Linked DNA regions of Homo sapiens: regions 2 and 3 are each linked to region 1. The links are contacts of gene promoters, found by promoter capture Hi-C in blood cells and fetal thymus (Javierre and others, 2016). All regions are on one chromosome and are shown on one strand. The core of a region is centred on a gene start or on the middle of the fragment in contact, and the rest is flanking DNA. Distances in the headings are between cores, read along the strand shown.

Region 1 (3,413 bases), core at 683-3,182:
TTATAATCCCATCAGCAGTGTACAAGAATCCCAGGTCCTCCACATTCTTGCCAGTACTTGGTATAATCAGTCTTCTTTGTCCATTCTAGTAGGTGTGAGATGGTGTCACATTGCGCTTGCAATTTGCATATCCTTAATGATTAATGATGTTGAGCATCTTTTCATGTCCTAATTTTTTCTTTCTTTTTTTTTTTGAGACAGAGTCTTGCTTTGTCGCCCAGGCTGGAGTGCAGTGGCACGATCTCGGCTCACTGCAAGCTCCACCTCCCGGGTTCCCGCCACTCTTCTGCCTCAGCCTCCCCAGTAGCTAGGACTACAGGCGCCCACCACCACGCTCGGCTAATTTTTTGTATTTTTAGTAGAGATGGGGTTTAACTGTGTTAGCCAGGATGGTCTCGATCTCCTGACCTTGTGATCCGCCTGCCTCGGCCTCCCAAAATGCTGGGATTGCAGGCGTGAGCCACTGCGCCCAGCCTTCATGTCCCAATTTTCTGTCTGTATATCTTATTTGATGAAATGTCAGTTCAAATATTTTGTCCATCTAAAAAATTGAATTGTTTGATTTTATCTACTGACTTTTAAGCATTCTTTCTATATTCTGGATACAAGTCTTTTTATCAAATATAGCCTTTACAGATATTTTCTTCCAGGCTGTAACTTAGCTTTTCAGAAAGTCTTTGGGAGCTATGGCTTAGTGAAACCCTTGTGCCAGGTTCTCCTCAGCGAATCCCCCTGATCACAGCCACCCCCATAGGTTCCATTTCAATATCTGTGGTGACCTTCTGCAAGCTAGGCTGAAGTCCCAAGCTCCAGACCCATGTCTCCAACTGCCCACCGTTCAATGCCCTTTGGATGTCCCATGCAAATCGGAGCTCACCATCCTCTCCCCAGACCCGCTGCTCCTCCAGGAGCCCTGTCTCCATGAACGGCCCTGCACCTACCGAGCTAGAGACCCAGGAGTTGGCCTTGTACCTCCTTCCTTCTCACTTCCACCTCCTGTCATTCAGAGCTGTCAGTTCTTCCTCCTGAACATCTCTGGACACTCACCTTCTCCACCACGCACCGCACCACCATTGTTCTCAACCGCACCACCCACCCAGACACCTTTCCTCAGACGGGTGGCCAGAGAAAAACTTCTCAAATAGAAGTCGGGACATGGCACGCCACTGAGAACCTTCCAGCGGTCTCCTGTGCACGTAAACAAGGTCCAGACTCCTTCGTGGGACAAGTAAAGCTCTTGATGATCTGGTCCTTGAGTAATGTGGGGGCCACTTGTACAGAGCCCCTCACACTGTTCAAAGTCGGCAGCTGAAGAGCTGAGCAGTAGCTGTCTGTGGAGTTCAGCTGCCACTCCCTACACGCCTGCCCTCTGCAGGGGATGGAGTCCCGTTTCCCCACTTCCCCACCTGCGCCCAGCAGTGCAGGTGAAGGCCTGGCTGCGGAGAGTGGCTGGGAAACGCTGCGCTTTGGGGTCAGGAATGCCAGCTCCACTACTCACCGCCTGTGTCACCCTGGGAAAACAGCTCTGGCCCCAGGTTCTCCATAAGTAAAACGGGGGCAGTCATCCCTCCCCTCCTCAACGACATATGTCAGAATCAGAAGCCACAAATCATTCTCTGCCACCCAGCACGCTGCCTTGGTCTCCTAGACCACTTTCCCCAACAATGGGAAAGGCGCCAGGCCCAGAACAAGGCCGAGACCGGATGAGGCCAGCGAAGCGCCCAGGGACAAACCTTCGGGCAGCGCCCACTCTCGAGTTCAGGCAAGTGCAGGGTCCCTCCGAGAGAGAGCGTCTCCAGAGAACGCGGCTGGCGCCTGGCTGAACCCGTAGCCTGAAGACCCGCCGGAGCCGCCCGCCCCACGATGGGCCCGCCCCTCCGGGATTGGCGCCCTGCTAGTGGCCATTGCCTGTGACGTCACAGGATCGCGCCCGCTTTTCTCTCGGGTGATCCGGCCGAGTGGCCCTGGGTTAGCAGCTGCTGCATTTCCCCGGCTGGCTGCGGTCACTGGTGGCAGTGCTCAGGCGCCCGCCGCCCTTGACCTTCGGCCCCGCGAGCTCTAACCCTACAGCGCAGGAAGATCGGCCGCCGCGGCCAGGTAGGACGAGCCTGGCTGGGTCTAGGCCAGAAGGGTGTCCGTGGCGCCGGTCTCCCGCGGAGCGCAGAACTAGTACCGGATCCCCAGCCGCTTCTGACCACACAGACGGGGCGGACCTGTGTGAGCACTCACTAACTGTCGGGGCTGGAGCTGGGCATATGGGGAAACTGGGGGACCGGCACGGGTTCCAGGCGAGTGGACGGTGGGATGGAATCCGACGTGCACACCCATGTCTCAGGCTTTGTTTGATGGAGGCTACTGTTTCCACCTCATGTCGCCGCCCCTTTGCTTATGGACTCTTGCAGAGTTGGATTGAGCTCGGGCTGTGTGATATAGTGGTTGTTGCAGAAGCCCCAGGGCCACTTTCTGACTAGTACCTTGGGCACCTGACATCATCCCTTTGAGTCTCAGTGTCCTCTTCTTTAAAGTGAGGGCGCTCTACCTGAGGAGATTGCTGTAAGGTTGGAATGAACCTGCATGTGTGTGTCATGTGGGAAGGGAACAGTCAGTGGGGCCTGGGGTTCTCTTGGAGAGCTGGTAACCAGCCTCGTCCCTGAGGCAACAGCCAGAGGGCGCCTGTAGTTTCCCCACGCATGTCTGTTAGCAGTTACGGCCTCTGGAGGATCTCCTGTGGGAGGTCCCTACTTCTCACTACAATCTTTAGAGACTTTGGAGGATTTCCTATGGAAGGTCCCCACTTCTCACCACAACATTCTGGGTTAAAATGGCCTTGGTAGGGGGATGGGGGCTGAAGCTGGATTTTTTTGCTTGCATTACAAGCTTCTGAACCAAGGACTTCATGTCACCTGGACTTGGATTCACATCCCAGCTCCTTCCTCTCCTAGCTCTAGGACTGTGTAACCTTGGGCAAATCTCTTAACCTCTTTAAGCCTTAATTGTTTCATCTGTAAAATGAGGCTAACAGTACCTACCTTCCACAATTGTCGAGAATTAAATCAGACATTGTAGGTAGAGCACTTAATAGTTGGCATTCAGCGGCAGCAGTTACTGTTATGTTAGCATGTGGAGTGTCTGAGTGTGTGCACATTGGCTCGAACAGCCTTTTGACAGTGGCACAGTTGGTGCTTGTGTAAGACAGCAGGGCAGAGAAGTCAAAGCCCTCGGTTTTCTAGTCAAACTGGTGGGCCACAACAGTGGTGACCTAAGTCTAATGAATCTTCAACTGAACAAGGCAGATTGAATCTCCAGGTGAGGACCAAGAGTCTGGGGATCAGCTGCCTCCACATTTTTGGGCATAGAAGGCTGTACAATACCGCCTTTGTTGTAAGAGCAAGGAACCATTCAGGGAAGGCACC
Region 2 (3,264 bases), core at 521-3,020, 170 kb before region 1:
ACTCTAAGCGAAGTAACTCAGGAATGGAAAACCAAACATTGTATGTTCTCACTTATAAGTGGGAGCTAAGCGATGAGGATGCAAAGACATAAGAATGATATAATGGATTTTGAGGACTCAGGGGGAAAGGGTGGGAAGGAGATAAGGGATAAAAGACTACACATTGGGTACAGTGTACACTGCTCGTGTGATGGGTGCACCAGAACCTCAGAAATTACCACTAAGGTACTTATCCATGTAACCAAACACTACCTGTTCCCTCCAAAATTTGAAATATAAATAAATAAAATAAATTTTCATTTTTCTGAGTATTACTAATGTTGATCACTTTTTCAAGTATTTATTGGATATTGGTTATATTCTCTTTAAAAGTGACTGAATCTTTTATCCATTTAAAAAAATTCAGTGTTTTTAAGTTGCTTTGCGGAAGTTCTTTATCTGTATTCTTAATGCAAGTCCTCTGGTAGCTGTCTGCATTGGGAACATTGTCTCCCAGCACTCAGCGATGGTGAGACGGGAAGTGGCAGACCCCCGCGCTGGCTCCTCCGTCGCCGCCTCTGGGTGCCTCCCTGCTTCCGATGGGATGGAGGTTTCAGGCTCACTTTGTTCTTTCCTTGCACCAAATCTGGAATCAGCCAAGGATCCTTGGTTCCTTTTAGTGAGGAATGACTATGTGTTTTTAAAGCTCTGGGGGTTGCTCTTATGTTTTCATGAGCTGATTTATGATGTTTTAATCCAGCATTTCCATTTTAAAGTGTGGGGAGTTGTAGAGAATGCCCACTTCACCCAGTGCTGACACGATAGTGTCTGTGAGTGCTTCTTAGCACTTATGTTGCTGCTTATGTACAATTGGACCCCTTCCAACCTAAAAAAATATAAGGAAGGTCTCACACTACTGGTGGGAAGATAAAAATGCTACTACCACTTTGGAAAATGGTTTGATAATTTCTTATAAAGATACCCATTGACCCAGCAATCTGACTCCTGGATGTTTGCCCGAGAGAAATGAACACATATGTTCACAAAAAGACTTCTTCAAGCATGTTCCTAGCAATGCTCTTCACAACTGGAAACAGCCCAAATGTCCATTAGCAGTATAATAGAAAAACAAATTACAGTGTATTCACACAATGGACTACTCAACAATAAAACAAATGAGCTCATTTCAAAACCTCATGTTGAGTGAAAGAAGTCAGAACACTACAGTACGTATTACATTATTTCATTTATATGAAACTCTAGAAAAGTCAGCACTGATCTATAGTGACAGAAAGTAGAAGAGTCACTGCTACTTTGAGGGGGACTGCCTGGGAAGGGGCAGAACAAACTTTCTAGGGCGATGACATTCCTTATCCTGATTGGGGTGTGCATACAACTGTGTATCTGTTTGTCAAAATTGTACAGTTAAGATTTACATATGCAATGTATATAAAATTTTCCTAAAATGCATATAAATATGCGAGAGTGTGTGTATAAATTATGTCTCCAAGTGTAAAACAAAAAGGAAGGACAGAAATATTAACTGCCTAGCAAAAGCTTGAAGTTGGCTGAGTAGATCAAGTTAATTTAACTCCAGGGGAACATTTGGCAAAAGGGGAAACTGGAGTTCTCTGTACTATTACTGAGCTTCAGGGCTGTCATCCAGGGGCTCAGCTTTGGTTTTACTTTTTTTTAGGGATTTGTTTGCTTCAAGAACTTCCCTGTAGTTCCGTTCAGCCTCACCAGGTGGCAGTGTCATATCAGCTAGGGGCCTGAGAAAGGTCAGCTCTCAGGAGACCCTGGTGCTCTCTGGAGCAGCTGGAGAGCGGGTGCTATTGTGTCATCATCAGTGGTCTTTGAGCAGACTATGACTCATACTCATTCACCAGGCTTAGCTGGACATTTTTTATCTTTTTCCAAAAATTATATCTGGGGCACAAATGTGTCACATTTGCAGGTATTCAAAAGACTGTGCCTGAGGCCCCATGGAAAGCTGGGTGGAGGAAGAGCTCCCAAATCCAACATGTAAGCTTCCCCGAAATGGAAGACTTGTGTGCGGCATGATTCCCTGTGGAGGGGTTTGGAAACATGGAAATGATTTCCCTCCACAGAGACGTACTTCTGCGACTTTCGATTTTACCGGGGGGCCCTGGGCTTCACTGATGATTATTCACATGTATTGAGCATTTACCATGCATCAGGCACTGTTTTAATTGTTGAACATACATGATATCATTTCTGGTCTAGCAGGTAGGGACTATGAATATCCCAATTTTTCAGGAGAAGAAACAGATACCAAGGGGCATTGTGACATTCCAGTGCTTGTGAGAAGGCAGCTGGCCTGACCAGACAGTCCACTCCAGGCTACAATCCAGGCAGGGCGCCTGGGACACTCCTAGCCTAGTGGCTGAGCAGAATGATAGGAGAGAGATTTTGGCAAACATTTCCATTACAGTATTTTGTTCTTCATCTCTTTAAAATCTTGGGTGGATTCCCCAGCTCAGTGTTTGTCTCTCTTGGTACATCTAGTGTACTTGGTGACATTGGAGCTTCCACTTACAGCCTATCTGCTTCAAAGCACACTGTAAGGAGGTCAGTCTCTTTAGAGGCTTTGTCTATGGACAGCAGCAACAACAGCAACAGGAAAAGGATTCTATTTTATCATCGTTACTTAGCACATGTTTGTACCCTGGTCTTTTAAATGCTAATATAGACTGCTTTGAATATACCTATATATACATGTATGTATATGTATGTATTTAAGGGAATAGAGTTGCAGAAATATTCCTCCATTCCCTCTTGCTCGTTGTGTGGTGGAGGACACATAATGGGTACTAAGTACAGGTTTGCGAGCTGAATGGCCTGTTGAATTCTTGGCAAAAGGCACCTGAAATTATGTTTAGCTCCCTAGTTAGTTTGCCTCATTATGTGGGATGTCCTGTTTCCTGCCTGATTGGTTTTGAAAGGCACTTTCCTGAGGGACGACTTCAGGTCACCTCCTGAGCCTCTGGTTTTATTTTCTGGAAGCACACCTTTGTCCAGAGTTTCTTTAAGGACTCCAAATTAGTTTTTTTGTTTTTGCTTTAGTTTTACACATACACACCAGACTTACATTTTATTTTTTCCTTTTCTTTTTTTTTTTTGGAGGCAGATTCTCACTCTGTCGCCCAGGTTGGAGTGCAGTGGTGCAATTATAGCTCACTGTGGTTTAGAACTCCGGGGCTCAAGCAATCCTCCCACCTCAGCCTCCCGGGTGGCTGGGACTACAGGCACGTGCCACTAGAC
Region 3 (3,470 bases), core at 230-2,729, 220 kb before region 1:
TTTTTTTTTTTTTGAGACAGAGTCTCGCTCTGTTGCCCAGGCTGGAGTGCAATGGCGCTATCTCAGCTCACTGTAACCTCCACCTCCCAGGTTCAAGCGATTCTGCCTGCCTCAGCCTCCCAAGTAGCTGGGATTACAGGCACCCGCTACCACGCCTGGATAATTTTTGTATTTTAGTAGAGATGGGGTTTCGCCATGATGGCCATGCTGGTCTCGAACTCCTGACCTCAGGTGATCCGCCCACCTTGGCCTCCCAAAGTGCTAGGATTACAGGTGTGAGCCACCATGCCCAGCCACACTTTGCTATTGCTATTGAGTGCCATCCTGTCTATTCGGCATGCTCTCCTGATTGTCCTGGCCATGCTCCCACTGGACATTCTCCTGTTTTCTGAGGTGTCCACCATCCATTCTGTTCCCTGCCACCTTCTTCACTCCCAGGTCTTAGTCCCTCCCTGCCGTGTAAGACTATCTATGGGAGCAAGCAATGCAGTGACCATACATTACTTTCAGACTCATCGGAGCATCTCTTCTTTCTGTAATATTTCCTAGCCCAGGAAAAAAACTGCATCTGTTTTCTGTTTGTTCCAGACTGGGAAACTAAGCCTGAGATTCACGATGCTTCAGACAAAAAATCAGAAGGATCATTGAGGGAATGCCTTGGAAGGCAAAGTCCTCTGTGTCCTAAATTTGAAGTTCATACACCCAATGGCAGGATGGGAACAGAAAAGCAAAGCCCTTCAGGGGAGACTCGTAAGAAATCCCTCTCCCGGGACAAAGGCTTGCGGCGACGGTCAGCCCTGTCCAGGGAAATTCTCACTAAAGAGAGACACCAGGAATGCAGTGACTGTGGGAAGACCTTTTTTGACCACTCATCCCTCACCCGCCATCAGAGGACTCACACTGGGGAGAAGCCCTACGACTGCCGCGAGTGTGGGAAAGCCTTCAGCCACAGGAGCAGCCTCAGCAGACATCTGATGTCACACACTGGGGAGAGCCCCTACGAGTGCAGTGTGTGCTCAAAAGCCTTCTTTGACCGTTCGTCCCTAACTGTCCATCAGCGAATTCACACTGGAGAGAAACCCTTTCAGTGCAACGAGTGTGGAAAAGCCTTTTTTGACCGTTCATCCCTTACTCGACACCAGAGAATTCACACTGGAGAAAGTCCTTATGAATGTCATCAGTGTGGGAAAGCCTTTAGCCAGAAAAGTATTCTTACTCGCCATCAGCTAATCCACACTGGCAGGAAGCCTTATGAGTGTAACGAGTGCGGGAAAGCTTTCTATGGTGTCTCGTCTCTGAATAGACATCAGAAAGCTCATGCTGGGGACCCTCGCTATCAGTGTAACGAGTGTGGCAAAGCTTTCTTTGACCGCTCATCCCTTACACAGCATCAGAAGATCCACACTGGAGACAAGCCATATGAATGCAGCGAATGCGGGAAAGCCTTTAGCCAGCGGTGCCGGCTCACGCGGCATCAGCGTGTCCACACGGGAGAGAAGCCCTTTGAATGCACTGTGTGTGGGAAAGTTTTCAGTTCAAAATCTTCTGTTATTCAACATCAACGGCGTTACGCCAAACAGGGAATAGACTGAGTTGGGCAAAAGCTTGGGTAGGACAAGAACTTCCATACAAATTTGAGATAGATCTCGCCTGTCTTAAAGCTGCCATTTGCTCATTCTACCCACTCTGGCTGCCGTTGTCCTGTCCTGCTTCTGCGCCAGAGTGTTTAATAAGCACTCCCTTCCTGCTGTGTTATAGAACTGTAGGGGAGGCCATGGAAATGACTCTAAAGATACAAAATTTTGAAGAGGTTTGTCAGACAATAGGATAGATGTTAGGAGGAGACACACCTCTTGTCTGAGAACCTAGGCCCCAGGTATCACTGCACTTTAAGAAACTGGAGGCTGCAACAGGAGGGAAAGGCAGAATGATATCACAGCAGTACTATTTTTTTTTTTCAGAACATTTGTTTTGATGGCTGTTAGTCCCCCTCTCTTGGAGCATTTTGGGGCACTAATCTTGTTCTCTTGTGTCCCAGCTTTTAGACCTCTTACTTCCACTGCTAGTAGCTAGCACTTACTGAGCACCTGCGATGAGGTAAAGACTCAGCTAAGGGTTTTACAGGAAGTAGATTAATTGATCCTGTCACCAACCATATGAAGTAGGCACTGTTACCATCTGCATCTCCAGATGAGCACCCTGAGGTTTAGAGAGATTAAATCACTTGCCCAAGGTGAACCAGCTGGTAAAAGGTGATGCCAGGTCTTGAAGACAGGTCCACCTTCAAAATCTATTCTCTTTACCATTATGCTCGATGGTTTGTTTGTTTTATAATTTATGTATATGTATTATCCTCTCAACTAGATTGTAAGCACTTGGAGGTGTGACTTACAGGTCTTTGTATCTCACACAGTGCCTTGCTAATAGGTGCTCAATAAATATTTATATGAGTGAATGACTTTTCTACTTACCAAATTCTCTCCATTCAGAACACCTCTTGGATTTGCATACTTTCTCTGAATTCACAGCCCAGCCTATACTTTTATCATCCCCAGCTCCCACTCCTGGCAGCAGTAGCTTTCTAATTCCAGTTCTTCCTGCTTTATTGAAGAGGGATGTGCTAAGCTGTGGTACAGTAACAAGCCCGCAGAGAGCTATGTCTCCCTTAAAACCTGACGGGAACCATTCTGTCTTATTCTATCCTCATTATTTGGAACATCTGGCTTCCAAAGTCACCACAAGGGCGGAAGAGAAAGCTAGAGGAATTTGTAGGATATTTTCTTAGACCCAGGCTTACATCACTTCTGTCCACATCTAATAAGCCAGAACCCAGCACCTAGAAGCTAGGAAAGTAAACAAGCACCTCGAAAGTTGGTTAATACCAAGAACCTCTCTCACAGTTATATTTTGCATACTACTGTTAAGCCAGTCTTTGCAAATGACCCCTTCCTGCCCATCACTGCCTTCCTCAAGACCTAAAATAGCTCCCTATTTAGTGAAAAATTATCTGAATATTTAAGGTCTGCCTTAACGTGATCCCCATTGCTGAATTTTACCTCCTGACTCCAAAAACTCTTCTCTTCCCTGGGCCCAGTCCTATTTTTTTTTTTTTTTTTTTTTTTGTGAGACAGAGTCTCACTCTGTCACCCAGGTTGGAATGCAATGGCACAATCTCCGCTCACTGCAAGCTCCGCCTCCCGGGTTCACGCCATTCTCCTGCCTCAGCCTCCCGAATAGCTGGGACTACAGGTGCCCGCCAACACGCCCGGCTAATTTTTTGTATTTTTAGTAGAGACGGGGTTTCACCGTGTTAGCCAGGATGGTCTCAATCTCCTGACCTCGTGATCCGCCCGCCTCGGCCTCCCAAAGTGCTGGGATTACAGACGTAAGTCACCGTGCCCGGCCTATATTTTTATTTTATTAAAGGTTAGGCACTAGATGACCTTGACTCTAGGCATCTGCATTCTCTT

What was found. The method cuts DNA at HindIII sites, captures the fragments that hold promoters and counts their contacts. A CHiCAGO score of 5 or more calls a contact.
Region 2: a fragment that was not itself captured here is called in contact with the fragment with the promoter of FAHD2A in region 1 in 3 of 17 cell types (M0 macrophages, M1 macrophages and M2 macrophages); the score reaches 16.1 in M0 macrophages.
Region 3: a contact is called between a fragment that was not itself captured here and the fragment with the promoter of FAHD2A in region 1, in 4 of 17 cell types (total CD8 T cells, naive CD8 T cells, activated CD4 T cells and 1 more). The highest score is 8.4, in total CD8 T cells.

Annotation. Positions count from the first base shown.
Region 1 is chr2:95,400,776-95,404,188 of GRCh38, forward strand. It overlaps FAHD2A (fumarylacetoacetate hydrolase domain containing 2A), which reads left to right and starts at 1,933. Exons shown (of 8, transcript NM_016044.3): 1 at 1,933-2,097. RefSeq lists enhancers at 703-1,642, 1,572-1,651, 1,643-2,581, 2,722-2,841. The HindIII fragment of the contact is 5,947 bases long and covers 1-2,875 here.
Region 2 is chr2:95,230,095-95,233,358 of GRCh38, forward strand. It overlaps a transcript of ZNF892 not described here. Among named protein-coding and RNA genes, the nearest start is that of ZNF892, 24 kb to the left of the region's middle. The HindIII fragment of the contact is 473 bases long and covers 1,535-2,007 here.
Region 3 is chr2:95,180,515-95,183,984 of GRCh38, forward strand. ZNF2 (zinc finger protein 2) reads left to right here. Exons shown (of 5, transcript NM_021088.4): 5 at 589-3,470. The coding sequence ends at 1,592. Among named protein-coding and RNA genes, the nearest start is that of ZNF2, 16 kb to the left of the region's middle. The HindIII fragment of the contact is 245 bases long and covers 1,358-1,602 here.